Linked DNA regions of Homo sapiens: all the other regions are linked to region 3. The links are contacts of gene promoters, found by promoter capture Hi-C in human tissues and cell types (Jung and others, 2019). All regions are on one chromosome and are shown on one strand. The core of a region is centred on a gene start or on the middle of the fragment in contact, and the rest is flanking DNA. Distances in the headings are between cores, read along the strand shown. Region 1 has its middle 6.4 kb from the start of NCRNA00250. Region 2 has its middle 33 kb from the start of ZFAT. Region 3 holds the start of KHDRBS3 (KH RNA binding domain containing, signal transduction associated 3).

Evidence for each region. The method cuts DNA at HindIII sites, captures the fragments that hold promoters and counts their contacts. A contact is called where the count stands out against the background at its distance.
Region 1: a contact is called between a fragment that was not itself captured here and the fragment with the promoter of KHDRBS3 in region 3, in 1 of the 25 tissues and cell types used here (dorsolateral prefrontal cortex).
Region 2: a contact is called between a fragment that was not itself captured here and the fragment with the promoter of KHDRBS3 in region 3, in 1 of the 25 tissues and cell types used here (dorsolateral prefrontal cortex).

The regions. Positions count from the first base shown.
Region 1 is chr8:134,829,214-134,834,046 of GRCh38, reverse strand. It overlaps a transcript of ZFAT not described here. Among named protein-coding and RNA genes, the nearest start is that of NCRNA00250, 6.4 kb to the left of the region's middle. RefSeq lists a silencer at 1,879-2,368. The HindIII fragment of the contact is 4,779 bases long and covers 531-4,833 here.
Region 2 is chr8:134,743,429-134,748,067 of GRCh38, reverse strand. It overlaps a transcript of ZFAT not described here. Among named protein-coding and RNA genes, the nearest start is that of ZFAT, 33 kb to the right of the region's middle. The HindIII fragment of the contact is 5,573 bases long and covers 285-4,639 here.
Region 3 is chr8:135,455,938-135,460,329 of GRCh38, reverse strand. KHDRBS3 (KH RNA binding domain containing, signal transduction associated 3) reads right to left here and starts at 2,874. Exons shown (of 9, transcript NM_006558.3): 1 at 2,376-2,874. The coding sequence starts at 2,463. LOC101927872 (a long non-coding RNA gene) reads left to right here and starts at 2,355. Exons shown (of 4, transcript XR_002956731.2): 1 at 2,355-2,448. RefSeq lists a silencer at 2,703-3,002. The HindIII fragment of the contact is 4,912 bases long and covers 33-4,392 here.

The sequences.
Region 1 (4,833 bases), core at 1,671-4,170, 630 kb after region 3:
AAAGGATTGGGTAATAAGTGATATATTGATCCATATGAACAGCCAACTCATACATGAATGTTAGAGAAACTTTTTGTAGGTGATAATATGCATAAATAGTAGAACACAAAACTAGAGAACAGTGTTTAAAGCAAGGTAGCTGCCAAATGCTGTAGAAAAGATACTAATGTATTCCAAAGAAGTAGACCACCAAGATTTTTTGGAAGACACTGCATTTAACTTGGGAGGGTCAAGTGAATAATTCCTGGGACATGGGAAACTTCAGGGCTTATTTAAGATACTGGGTGACATCCTTTACCAAGATCAAGTATACGTTTGGGGCTACAAGACAGGGAGACAGACACATCCTTTTTTAAAAAGTTAACAGCATAGCTAAAATTACATAGTACTACAACATTCAAGAAATACTGCCTGGCAGTAAGTGATTAAGAGCTAAATTAGAGGAATGGGCTGGAAGTCTAAGTGTGTCTGAATCCCAAGGTGCCTGCCTGCACAGCCCTGAGGTCACAGGCTCCTTGCCTGCTGGGAAAACCTTACTACTTGATGGATGCTGGGTAAATGCTGGTTAATTGAGTTAATCTTTCTTCAGCTAGTTAGAGACGTGGAGGACCTGGAGCTCCTTGCTGTTTACACCTTAACCAAAATGTAGGGGCCCCAAGGGAATTGAGGAAAGCACCCCACCTTATTGCTCGTTCAGATGCAAATTCAGAAGCTGAACAACTGCCCTCCAAAAGTTGCACCAAGGCCCTTATGTCCAGCTCTAAACCTTTGCGGGGATGGGAGGGAGGTGGGGACTACCAAGTGATCCACAGATCACAAGCGATGCTCTTTAAGGTGGTTTTTCTGAAATGTTTTATTACCCCTGCTTAAGGGAAGGCTTTGTAGGACAAAGAGTATTGAACTTGAAGCCTGGGTCTCCACCACTACCTGACCTTGAGTGAGTCATTTAGTTTTTTAATCTCTTTGAGTCCCGTGTTCCCAGTTGTAAAATATGGAGGTTGTGGGCTCCATAATAATAGCTAGGCATTTAGGATCTATAACGTGCCAGGTGAGGCGTTTTCCGCGTTATCTCTTTTGATCCTCACAACTACCTTGGTAGACTTCACTAATCCCATTTTACCCGAGACGTTCGGTTGAGAGCGCTTTGATGGCATGCCCAATATCACGCAGCGAGAGTGGCGGATCCGGATTCCACTTCAAAGCTGCCTGACCCTAACACTACGCAGCCCCAGTTTGATCGCAGGTAACCTCCTCCGAGATTTCCCTCAACTGCCCGCTCGGTTCCTTCTCCGCCTCTCCTCGCTTCACTGGCGTCCAAAGCGCCCCTTCGGGCACCGGACATGCTCAGTAACGCATGAAGACTTTTCGCTCTGCCTCGGGAAATTTTTCACGCCACTCCGGGAGCCGAGCCCGCCCCGCCCACGGCTCCTCCTCACGGGATTGGTCAAATTCCGGGAGGCAGCGAGGGAAGGGAGGCAGGCGGAGGTCCAAATTACCTCCCAAACCCCAGCGCTCTGGGCGCGCGCGCCCCGAGAGTGCGTGCCTGCGTGCGTGCGTGTGAGTGAGCACGTGAGGGCCCCAGAACGTGCACAGTGGGCGGGGACAGGAAATGGGAAGCGAGGGGCGGGGGTTGCCGTTGCCATGGCAGTGACGTCAGGCGTCGGGGAGCGAACCCGGCCCCTTCCCCACGCGCGCGCGCACACACACACAGAGACATGTACACGCGCGCGCACAGCCGCTCTCCCTCAGACACACTGGAGGGAAAGGTCAAACTAAAGGCGAGGGAGCAGAGAGACCGGAGGGAGCCGCTGCCGCCGCCGCGCGCCATGACGGACGCGGCGGAGGCTGCTTTCTCAGTGCGGACGCCGCCGATCCCCAGCTCTCGCCGCGCCCCCTGCCCCCCGCCCCTCGCGCGCCCCTCACCCTGGCGCTGGCGCGTCCCCGCGCCCTCTCCCCCGGCCGCTCCAGGCGCGCCTCGGGCTCGGGGCGCGGGGCGCTGGGAGCGGGAGGGTGGGGGCCGCGGCGGGCCGGCGGCCTCCTCGCCCGACCCCCGACCCCGGGCCAGGTGAGTGCCTTGGGGCGGGAGAGGGCGTCCGGAGCGGAGAGGACACCGGGCGCTCAGCCCCCCGCCTGACCCCCTTCCGGGGCGCTGACAGGCTCTCGGGACACGGCCTCTGGGGGGCGTCGTGGGGTCACTTGTGTCGGGGGGTGCTTTTTTGGCGCCCCCGTCCCTCAGGGTCGGGCGTCCGAGTCGTGGGGGGCTCGGGGCCGGGAAGTGGGCGCTGCGGTGCGGCCCTGGAGTGCAGCCGCGGCGACAGGGTATGGGGCGGGCGGCGGGAGGCAGGTGGGCCCCTCCCCGGGGCTCGTGAAGTGGGGGGACCGGGCGTGGGGGCCGCGGGAAGCTTTCGGGAAATGTTTATCCGGCAGTTGCAAGAAACTCTGCCCTCGGGACGAGGCGCCTTGCTTTTTGCCGGGGCCAGCGAAAGTGGCGGATTTCACAGCAAAACTCGGGTGAAGCCAGGCTGGACCGGCCGGGAGTGAGAGAGGCCGGGAGCACCCGTCTGGATGGGGACCAGAGATGAACGAATCCGCCTGTGTGTAGCACCAGGGCATGATGTGTGCACGTTGCTATGCCAGTGTTTAATGTTTGTTGCTTATGGTTATTTTAGGACTAAATGATAAAAAAGTTACTTGGGAGAGAGGGAACTGCTTGATTTGACATGAGTTCTTCACTTGTGCATGCAGGAAATACATTAATCCTGTACACACACAACTGAATTTATGTCCAGTGGACTTTACAAATAATATACACAAAATTCTAAAGCCCCGAAGCAAGGTGATGTGTGTCTGAAGAGTTTCAGGTGTCAGGCTCCGTGTTCCGTGGGAACAAAATAGGAGGACACCGAAGTACTTGATATGCCCAAGCAGTCATCTTTTTGTAATAAGCTTTGGATACCATCAAAGTGGAGTTTAGTTGTAACTGCCAGGGTTAAGTAATCGCATTGACCCGGTGCCACCCACCAGTTTGGAGCTTCTCTGAAAGTAATTTACGAGACAGTCCTGTGCTGATTGTGAATAACCAGTGCTTTTGCTGATTTTTTTCCTGTTTAATTTTACACTGTCATCATGTATGTGTATGCTACCTGTTTACCAAACGTTAGAATGAATTATCCATAGTTAAACTCTCCACTAAATCACTAAATCAGGTACTAGCTGTGGCATGTCTTTAAAAATATATATATTTGAATGTTACCTGGAAATTACCGATATAATGGTTTCAAGCTGATAGGGATTTTTTGAACTTAAGTCTAGCATAAACATTATCCCAAGTGGATGTGTTTTAAAATTTAAATCTCATCTAAGAAAACTTCCTGGTTTGTGAAAGGTGCAGGATTGTGATGATAGCTGAGGAAATGCCAGAGAGAATTTTTGGTAGAGAATAAGAGAACAACCTGTGAATTTGGTGTTAACCAGCAGTCTCGGCATATACTCACTTGCTCCTTACCTAAGCATTTCTGATATGTGGGTGCTTTTTCTGTTGATTATGTATCTTTGGTTATTTGTCATTTTCAAAAAGTTTCCTCAACAGAGGACCCTCACTTTGAAATTGAGTCCTTGTGGCATGTAGCCGGGATACCAAAAGTTTTCAGTACCAGATGCAGAGAGAGATCAGTCCGTTTGGGATCTTGTTAATTCTTTCTGTGCAGCTACTTTTGTGCTGTGAGGTCTCTTTTACATCTTGCTCCTATTGGCCATAGCTGACATATGTCTGTATACAGTCCTGTAGTGGGGTACTTAATTGTTACAACCTGAAAAGATTATTTCTTGTAATATATAAATAAATTTTTATGTTTTTCTCTCTTCTCTCTTTTTCAAGGGAACTGTAGAATTGGACAAATCAACACTTAGCATGTCCCCCTCCTGTAGGTCTTGTTGACCTTGGTGGCATCGTGGAGGTCATATGTTCATGGAGATAAACAGTTCTTGAACGGTTTACTCCAGGTGGTAAAAACACATGGGAAAGTGATTTGGGCTGTGCGTATCTTGGTTTTTTAAAAAATCATTTTTATCGAGCGTTTATTGTGATCATGGCCAAAAATAAAATAATTCTTTGACTTTTTTTGAAATACTATACACACATTTCTATATTACATTTTTAAGAATTGCTTATTTTTCAATTTTTCTAGTATTTCTTGTATATTCTACCACAGGTGAACAACTCATTTTTTGGGTGACATTTTTAGAGCTTGCTTGAGGGGCACTAGAAAGAAGGGCAGTAATGTGATGTGAATGTTTCAGCTTATGAAAACAGCTGTGCTCTACTTTAAGAAATTTGACATTTAAAAGTGTAAGATTGCAAAACAAATTAATTACTAGTTGGTTATATTATGTGAGAATTTTAAAAAAGGGATTCACTAAAAGTTGTTTTCAAATACTTAATCCCTTTAAATGGTATTTATCTAATGTGATTTGATTTGTGAATAATCAGTTGGCATACAACAATTTAGGAACAGATTTTTGGCATATGTAAGGGTTATCAGTGTGTTCTTTGAGTTCTCTCTTTACCAAAAGTATTTGGGGACAAAGTTAAATTCAGTGTTGTTCCACTTATATGCCACCTATAATGGTTTAACTGAGTGGGAAAATTGTCATCTGATTTATCCCATATCATTTAAGGCAGCGGTGTCCAATCTTTTGGCCTCCCCGGGCCACGTTGGAAGAAGAAGAATTGTCTTGGGCCACACATCAAATGCATTAACAATAACTAATGAGCTTAAAAAATTGCAACAAAAATTTCATATTTTTAGAAAGTTTACACATTTGTGTTGGGCC
Region 2 (4,639 bases), core at 1,822-4,321, 710 kb after region 3:
TAAAAAATACTTTAAAAACTACCACAACCCCAGATATTTCTGAAACCCCAGATATTTCTGATATTATGGACAGATCCAACTAGCTGAACAAACTGTGCACATTTATTATCAGAAATAAGCTTTGATTCTTGTTATCCACATTTCATTAATTCTGGACTTCATCAAGACCAAAGCCCAGGTGGCTATCCACCAGCCCAGAGACCAGAGATGCTTCAGATTAATTTACGTCTTTGGTCTCCTCGGTAATATGATGATGATGCCTTCATTATAATAAAAAAGGAATTAGATACACAAAATTACAGGGCTGTAAAAAAAGGGAGGAAACGATTATCTCAAAATAAGAACAAAGAAAAACAAGTGGCCTAGATTCCATCACAGCTGACCTGAAGGCCATGATTTACCTAAATTTGTTCTTCACAGTTACAAGTTCTATAAATGTATTTCACAAGCTTGTTATGTGTATTTGGCTATATTTTGGAGGGATGTGAGTAATAAATAATAGTAGTTAGAGACATTGTTAGGACCTTGCTGATTCGGTATTTCAAATTAAAAGAATAGTGTTAAATGCTTTTTAAAAATCTATTAGGAAAAATATTCATATAAGCCAATTAATAATCTATATAAGATTTCAGAAAGGATGCTTAAACAAGGTTTTCAAACACTCTAAAGATCTTTAGAGGCTGAGTGCAGTGGCTCATGCCTGTAATCCCAGCACTTTGGGAGGCTGAGGTGGGAGGATCATTTGAGTCCAGGAGTTTGAGACCAGCCTGGGCAACACAGTGAGACCTCATCTGTATAAAAATTTTTAAAAATTAGCTGGGTGTGGTGGCATGTGCCTGTGGTTCTAGCTACTTGGGAGGCTGAGGTGGGAGGATCACTTGAACCTGGGAGGTCGAGGCTGCAGTGAGCCATGATCATGCCACTGCACTCCAACCTGGGCAACAGAGCAAGACCCTATCTCAAAAAGAAAAAAAAAGATCTTTAGAAAAAAGGCATATTCCAGGAACAAATTATAATAGTATCAATCCCTGATAAAACATTAGGCTCTGATTTTTAACAGGTAGTTTATAATCAGTAGTAGTGACTAAGAATCAGCACAGCTTTTCTAGGGAAAATTATTTATCATTAATCTCATCTCCATTTTAAGGAAATCACTAAGTTCATGAATAAAGGGAATGTCGCAGACATATTATAGCTCAATTTTCACAAAGCGTGGATTCTAGTTCAATTAAGGGATTAACAATTTTTAATTGTTCAGTTATTTAACTTGTCATAACAACCTTAAATAACTCTACTCTTCAACTCGTCCATTGTAACACTTGATTGATATCTGGCTGAAGAGCTAAAAAACTTACTTATGAACTGTACAGATGACTCAGCACTGGGGGAAGAACTAAGACACTGCATTGGAGATTCAGACTTACAAGGATTTGAACATGTTCCAAAAGAGGGCAGAAAGGAAATGAAAACTAGGTTAAAAAAAAGTTCAGCAACACAAGGTCAGTATTGAGAGGCTGTGGCTTGACATTAGTTTAGTGGAGAAAGACCCAAAGTGTTAGCCAAGTGCAATTTAAATATGGGCCAACAATGTGATTTGGCTGTTTAAAAAGCTAATGCGATTTTAGGGTACATTAACACAGCCATAGTATCCATATCAGGTGGGTGATGGTCTTGCGGTGTTCTACGTTTTAGACATAGCACAAACAGTCTTCAATTTGGGGCATCTTGTTTTCAGCAGAAAATGATAAATCAAAGATTAACCAGAGGGCAAATAGAATTACAGATGATCAGGAAATCAAGTCATGTGAGGAATGGTGAGAAAACCTAGCAAGATTTAGTCCTAGAGAGAACATGAGAGCTGCTGTTAAACATTTGAATGTCTTGCAAAAGGAGGAGGTTCTTTTCATTGATTGGTTGGTTGGTTGCTTTTTCAATGTACTGCAAAGAGCGGAATTGAGAGGAAATCAATATAATGGTAGATTCCAAATTAAAGAAGTTTTACACTCAGGGCCAATGAAACCTGGAAGGGGCTTTCTTGTAAAGTATTAGGCAGAGTCCCAGAGAGCAGGAAGAGCACAGGCAAAGGGGCTGATGTGAAAAACTAAGAAACTGCCTCATAAATGGTAACCAGCAAAGGCTTTGGAGCCAGACAGACTGCAACCAACCCCATCTTTCTATACTAAATAGCTGCGTGACTAAGCAGGTTACTTAACCTCTCTGAGCTTCAGTTTCCATACTTATAAAATGGGAATAATAATAATAATATACTCATCTCACAGGATGTTTTGGATGAGTAAATAAAGTAATGCTATTATTGGTAACCCTTGAGGAAATCCCTTCAGTGAGACCTTAGATTGCAAACCTGCAAGGCAGCAAGCAAAATCCTGAACCTTGGCTTTTTATGATCTGATAAAAGCTCCTCTGCCTAGAAATCACATTAGCCCATGTTGAACATCACTGTGAAACTGGGGAGTCCACGGCACTTTTTGCTAACCAAAATAGGTCAAAGAACATTGTGATCTCATGTCCTCACTAACTCCTCTTTTCCCTTTCTCTGTCATAGAGAAAGTAATAAAGTCTTAACCCAGCTTTGACCATTACCTCTCCCACCTCCTTACTGGAACATTCACTCAGCTGTAGACTCAGGGCAGAACCTTTCTGCATTCGAAACCAAGCAAGCTAGGCCAGCTTTAGGGTCCAGGACTGTCTTAACCATTGCAGAATCCCACCCAGCAGATGGCAAGAGCAGTGCAAGGATACCTGGATCCTGCTTGGCATTGCACGTCTTAAGGAGTTAGACCAGGGAACCGTGGTAGACAGAATTCCAGGCTCCACCCCTGGTGAACATGCCATATGATTCCCTTCCCTCAAGTGTGAGCAGGGCTGTAAATGTGGTAGATTTCATTCCCACAATTAGGTAAAGGGGTGAAGGGATTTTGCAGATATAATTGATGTACCAAATCAGGTGACATAGGGTTAATCAAAAGGAGATTATCCTGAGCAAATTAGACGAGCCCTTACAAGAGAGTAGGCCCTTCCTGGCCGGGCGCGGTGGCTACGCCTGTAATTCCAGCACTTTGGGAGGCCGAGGTGGGCGGATCACGAGGTCAGGCGATCGAGACCATCCTGGCTAACATGGTGAAACCCCATCTCCACTAAAAATACGAAAAAGTAGCCGGGCCTGGTGGCGGGCGCCTGTAGTCCCAGCTACTTGGGAGGCTGAGGCAGGAGAATGGCATGAACCCAGGAGGTGGAAGTTGCAGTGAGCCGAGATCAGGCCACTGCACTCCAGCCTAGGTGACAGAGCAAGCCTCCGTCTCAAAAAAAAAAAAAAAAAAAAGGAGAGTAGGCCCTTCCTGAAGGAAGAGATTTGAAGTACAAAAGATTTTCCTGCTGACTTTGAAGAAGTAAACTGCTTTGTTGTGAGGGGGCCTGTGTAGAAAGCAATGTGACAAAGAACTCTTAGCCTTCAGGCTGCGCGCAGTGGTTCACGTCTGTAATCCCAGCACTTTGGGAGGCTGGGGCAGGTGGATCACTTGAGGTCAGGAGTTTGAGACCAGCCTGGCCAATGTGATGAAACCCCATCTCTACTAAAAATACAAAAATTAGCCGGGCATGGTGGCGGGTGCCTGTAATTCCATCTACTCAGGAGGCTGAGGCAGGAGAATTGCTTGAACCTGCAAGGCAGAGGTTGCCGTGAGCCAAGATTATGCCACTGCACTCCAGCCTAGGCAACAGAGCAAGACTCCATCTCAAAAAAAAAAAAAAAAAACTCTTAGCCTCTAGGAGTTGCTTCCAGCCAACAGCCAGCAAGAACAACAGCCTGCAAAAAGATGGGGGCCTCAGTCATACGGTCATAAGGAAATGAATTCTGCCAACCACCAGTGAGCTTGGAAGAAGACCTTGAGCCTCAGAGGGGAATGCAGAGCAACTACCCATTAAAATGGTGAGACCCTGACTAGAAAATTCAGTTAACTCATGCCCGGACTTCTGACCCATGGAAAGTGTGAGATAATAAATTTGTGTAGCTTGCAGTCACTAAGTTTGCAGTGATGTGTTATGTAGCAATAGAAAACAAACGGAGGAGCAAGAAACCTGTTTGGCCTGTCCTTGTCACCCTCTCGTGATAGCCACATGTTCTATGCCATTGCAATAAGAAACCAGTGTGCCCTTTTGGCCAGAAAAGAAAGGCAGTCTTAATTCTGGCAGCCCTGGGTGGAGATTTGCCTCCCCAGGAGCCTGGCAAGTAGGAAAAGGTGGATAAGTGGGTTCTCTTCTCGCTGTGACTGGGCAGGCTGGTGCCCAGGCTGAGGAGAGACAGACGCTTCTGGGGCAAAGCAATCTCCAAACCCCCTCTTCCCCTCCCCAGGTGAGACTCTGTGAGACTGTGAAAAGCACTATTTTACAAATAACCAGCAGGCTGATTACAAAGACTTCTTAGCTGTTCCCTAAAGTGATTCTTCCAAGAAACACTTTGCTGCAATTAGGTATGTCACTGATAACAATAAGTTGTATATATTTTTAAAGTATAATGACATTTTCCTTCATTTATTTTTTATTTTTTTAAATTTTTTTCTTTGAGATGGAGTCTCACTCTGTCGCCCAGGCTGGAGTGCAATGGTGTGATCTCAGCTCACTG
Region 3 (4,392 bases), core at 1,625-4,124:
GAGTTTAGAGATACCATAAAACATATCTATTACATGGCACGCTAAGGTTTGCCATGCTGGCCCATTCTACAATTTAGTGCTGAAATACCAACTCCAATGTGAATAACTGCTGAAAACACAGTTGCATTAGAGGCAAACACAAATATAACTAAATAAGAAAAAATAGCCCATAACAAGATGGTTGGATTTAAAATCAAAGCTTCCTCACAATCATGTAGCTTCAGATTTAAAACACTTGTAATTTTGCAGTTACATAAGCGTGTAATTAATGTTTTAAATGATAAAGCTCTGCATTCCGAATATCAGCCTGTGATTTAAGAGAAAAATGTTTCAGTCTGAAGTCATCTAAACTAACAGTAAGACAAGATTCTGAGCAGCACCTCCTCCTTCCTTCACATGTGAGAAATATACTTCTTATAAGAATTACTTCTATGAAAAGTAAGTTTATCAAGTTGAATACCTAAAAAACACTAAATGGCAACATTTCCCCAGTAAATATCTGTTTCAAGTAACTGGAAGCCATTAACACTGGTAAAAACACAGAATCCAAAAGAATTTTGGACGTTTTAGCAACACAATACTATGGCAACACGGCAGAGAAAATAATTCTGACTTTTAAAATAAGATAACGCACTGTACTTTCAGTTTAACTGTTCCTTAATTGAGTACAACCTAACTTTGATTCAGCTACTTTATTAGGAAAAATGCACTTGAGTCCACAGTCCAGAATATTTCCAATGCCACGGATCTCATGCAATGTATGAAGAAATTTCTTTCACAGAGATGACAGCCCAGCAGGCAATAAAAGATACATGTAAATCATCAGGCACAGGAGTACAAACTCAACTGCAGAACTGTTCAGAGGGCATAGAAATAAAACTTAATTTTTTTTCTTTTATTTAGGAATGCATGCCCATTCACTTTTTCACAAGCCCATTTTATTAAAGAAATAAAAATAAGCCTGCAATTAAAATAAAATGAGGGAGCTCCATAAGTCTATTTCTGTTCAACAATTCAAATATTCTTAAATTCTTGGAGACAGTAAAGAGTCTCTCCTCCACCATCGGTCAACCACACACACACTCTACTCTGAAGAACTGGTTGAAACAGGCAAAAACTGGAGGTCACTGTTTTAAAATATAGGTATCTATATACAAATAGAATATGTCTGCCTCATCTTTCACTTCCAACAATAAAAAAGCCAGGGCGAGCACTAAGAGCAGCAGATCCGATTCATCTAGGGAACCACAGACTGTCAGTGCACAGTAATTCCTGCAAAAGGTAACAGATCTGACCAGATCATGTTGCTGCCATTTCCCAGAGAAAAGACAGACCAGTGGCACCCACACCCATCTTCATCTGAAACACATATTCCAGGAAAAGTAGGAGACTGCTCCCAGGAAGGAAGGCTTAATTTACCGTGCATGCCAGCAGATGATTCAGGAAGCCACAGGAGGAAAAAGCCAGGGGAACACTGTCCCGGGTAGGCGTGCCTCCAGAAATCTCTGTATCCCTGACCCGCAGTACTTCCTAGGATCTTTCACACCCTGAGCTGGCTGGAGTCGTGTGAAAATGGCAAGGACTCCCTTCACCACTATTCCGAACCTCAAGCCAGCCACCAATGAGGGTCACCCAACCCAACGCCCTCCGGAACGGTGCTCTTTTGCCGGCCTCTTCTCCCCTACTGACTTCTCCAAGGGCCAGCCTGCAAGGCTTGGCATGGGCTGCCCATCCCCTGGGAGGGCTGACTGCCCCGCCAGGGCTGTTGGAGCCTGGACACAGGAGAGACAAAGGGCTGGGAGGGGGAACTGGGCTCCTCCCCTGGGACCACGGAGCTCCTCTCCTCTCAGGTGCTGGGGTCTGACCCCAACCCTCTTCCAAGGTCCCCAAACTTCGCTAACAATGCAAGCACCTGTTCCCTTCACCTCTTCTGCATTTGAGTCCCTCAAGTCCTTCCATTTTCCTCCAGCTTTTTCTCCAGTACCTTAGACAAACCAAACGCCCTACTTCCCCGAGTCCAACACGCTCCCCTTCCATGACATAATTCAACCTCGTTCCCAACGAAGCCCCCAGATGGTCGCTGTCCCCCACCCAGAAGTTTCCCCTGGGTGTGCCCGAGTCCCCAAAGATTTCCTTCAAGTCTCACCCATGCGCCCCAGCCTTCTCCTTCCAAGTCCCCAAAATTCACATCAGGGTCTTCCCCTAGGTGTCCCACAGCCTCCCAGGTCCCCGTGCAAACGACCCCGGGGGCCACCCGGGCCTCCGTCTCCGCCGCGTCCGCTGACAGCAGAGGGCACGGAGGGGCCCCCTGGGCCCCCGCGTTTCCACCCGGCCCCCAACCGCCGCCGGCCGGCAGTTAACGGCCGGCGCCTCACCTTGGTTCACCAGGCGCAGGGCGTGCGTGAAGGAGGGGTCCAGGGAGTCCTTCTCCGCCATCAGCTCGGGCAGGTACTTCTCCTCCATGCTCGCCGGCCGCCGGGCCCGGGATGTGGACTCCAGGCGCACGGGGGGCGGCGCCCGGCAACCCCCGACCCCGCCCGCGCCCCCAGCGGCGGGGACCCGGGGGCCAGACGCGGCAGCAGCGGCCAAGCCGGGCGGTCGGCCGGAAGGCGGCGGCGGCGGCACGGGGGCGGGAACCGACCGCTCAGCCCCGATCCCCGGTGGCCGCCGAGTACCCAGCGCCGGCGGCCCCCGCGCTCCGGGCGCGGGCCGAGGAGGAGCGGGCGCGGGCGGCGCGGTTAGGCGGGCCCTCGGGCCGAGCGGGCTGCGGCGCCCCTGAGGCAGTCCACGGCGATCCCCGCCAGTCCCGCCAGCACCTGCCAGCACCCGAGCCACAGCTGCGACCTGCACGCCGCGCGCCGCCCCGCGCACTCTGAGCCACCGCGCCGAGCGCCCAGCGCCTGCCGCCGGCCCCGCCCCGCCCGGCTCCGCCCCGCCCCGCCCCGCGCCCGCCGCCCCGCCCTGCCGCGCCGCGCCTGCGCACTGGCGCCCACCGCCCCGCCGCCCGCCGCCTCCTGGGGCCGCTCTCCACTGCGAGTCCGCCGGGACTAACCGGGCGTTTGCGAGAGGGGGTGCGTCCAAGGGCCCCTCCCGCGTGTCCGGCGCCCACCTTTGGCCCTGAGGGCCGAGTGGGGAGCCCCACGACGCTATTACAGCCTTTCAGATGCACGGACTGGGAAACTGGGGCTCAGAGAAGTCAAGTGGCTCGCCCAAGGTCACCCAGCGAGTGATCCTGGGAAGAGGGGACAAGGGCCGAGCTGGAGCTGGGAAGGGCGCCCCAGTTCGCCCCAGTCGCGCTCTGAGGAATAGCAGCGGGACCGCCCTGCTCTCTAAAGCTTCCTGGACTTCTCTAAGTTATGTCGCGTTGCTGTCCCCTCGTACTTATAAGAGAGTAAGGCAGGGGCGCCGTCCTTTCTCCGCGCCTGAGCTCAGAGCGCCAACCTCCTGAGATCCGCCAGCTCAGAGGTCGGTTACATAAAAGCGCGTGCCCTTCTGGGCGTCTTTGTCATCCCGACTTGCTCCTGGGTTGTCATTCTCTTAGGTCATAAACCGGCTGTGCCTGGACACAGCTGAGTGAGCCGCGTCTGAGCTCATCCGCTCCTGGGGAGAGGCCCTGGGACGCCCCGCCTGTCGGTGGCAATGCTCTCTGTCCCCTTCCGCCCACCCCCAACCCCCAGCAAATGCTCTCCAAGGCCATTTCAGATTTCCCGAGGCATGTGGAATAAACGTCCCCCAGGAAGGCGAAGGACTCCAGTCCTTGCCCTGCCATTTTTCCTGCCTTCAAACAGCCAGCTCAAGTCCCGGCCTCAATGTCACCTTCCCTGGACAGCCTCTCAGGACCTCCCTGGCAAAGCAAGTCACAAGTCCCTTCTCTGTGTCCCCCCAGCTTGGTCAGAGGTCATTCACAGACAGCTGTAATTCTGTTTTCAGTAGACCATGAGCATCAGGGACAGAGTTTGAGTTTTGTTTTTGAGGGGGAAGGTCACCAGTGTGTAGTACAGGGGGCAGGGATGGAGGGTACTGGAAATGTCTCTTGGAGGAATAAGTCAGTGGCATACCACTCTCAGCCAATAGCCTGAGGACAATCGCCACAGTCCCCCAGGCAGCCCCCCCGCACTCCCAATGCAAATGGAGGCAGCTTTACAAACCCGAGGGGAGTGGGAGGTGGTAGAAATCTTGGAAGCTCTAAGTCCCAGACCCGAGTACTCAACTGCCCTCACTCTCAAGGCTCCACTCCTCCCCCGGCTAAGGTGTCATTTCAGAGTCCCCAGTAAGAGTCTTCTTCATGGCTCTCTTCAGTCTCAACTTGCAAGAAGCAGAAAAATGGCACAGTTAAAAGCAAAGCCTCTGGGGTTAAACAGCCTGGATTTGGAATCATGGATCTGCTGCTCA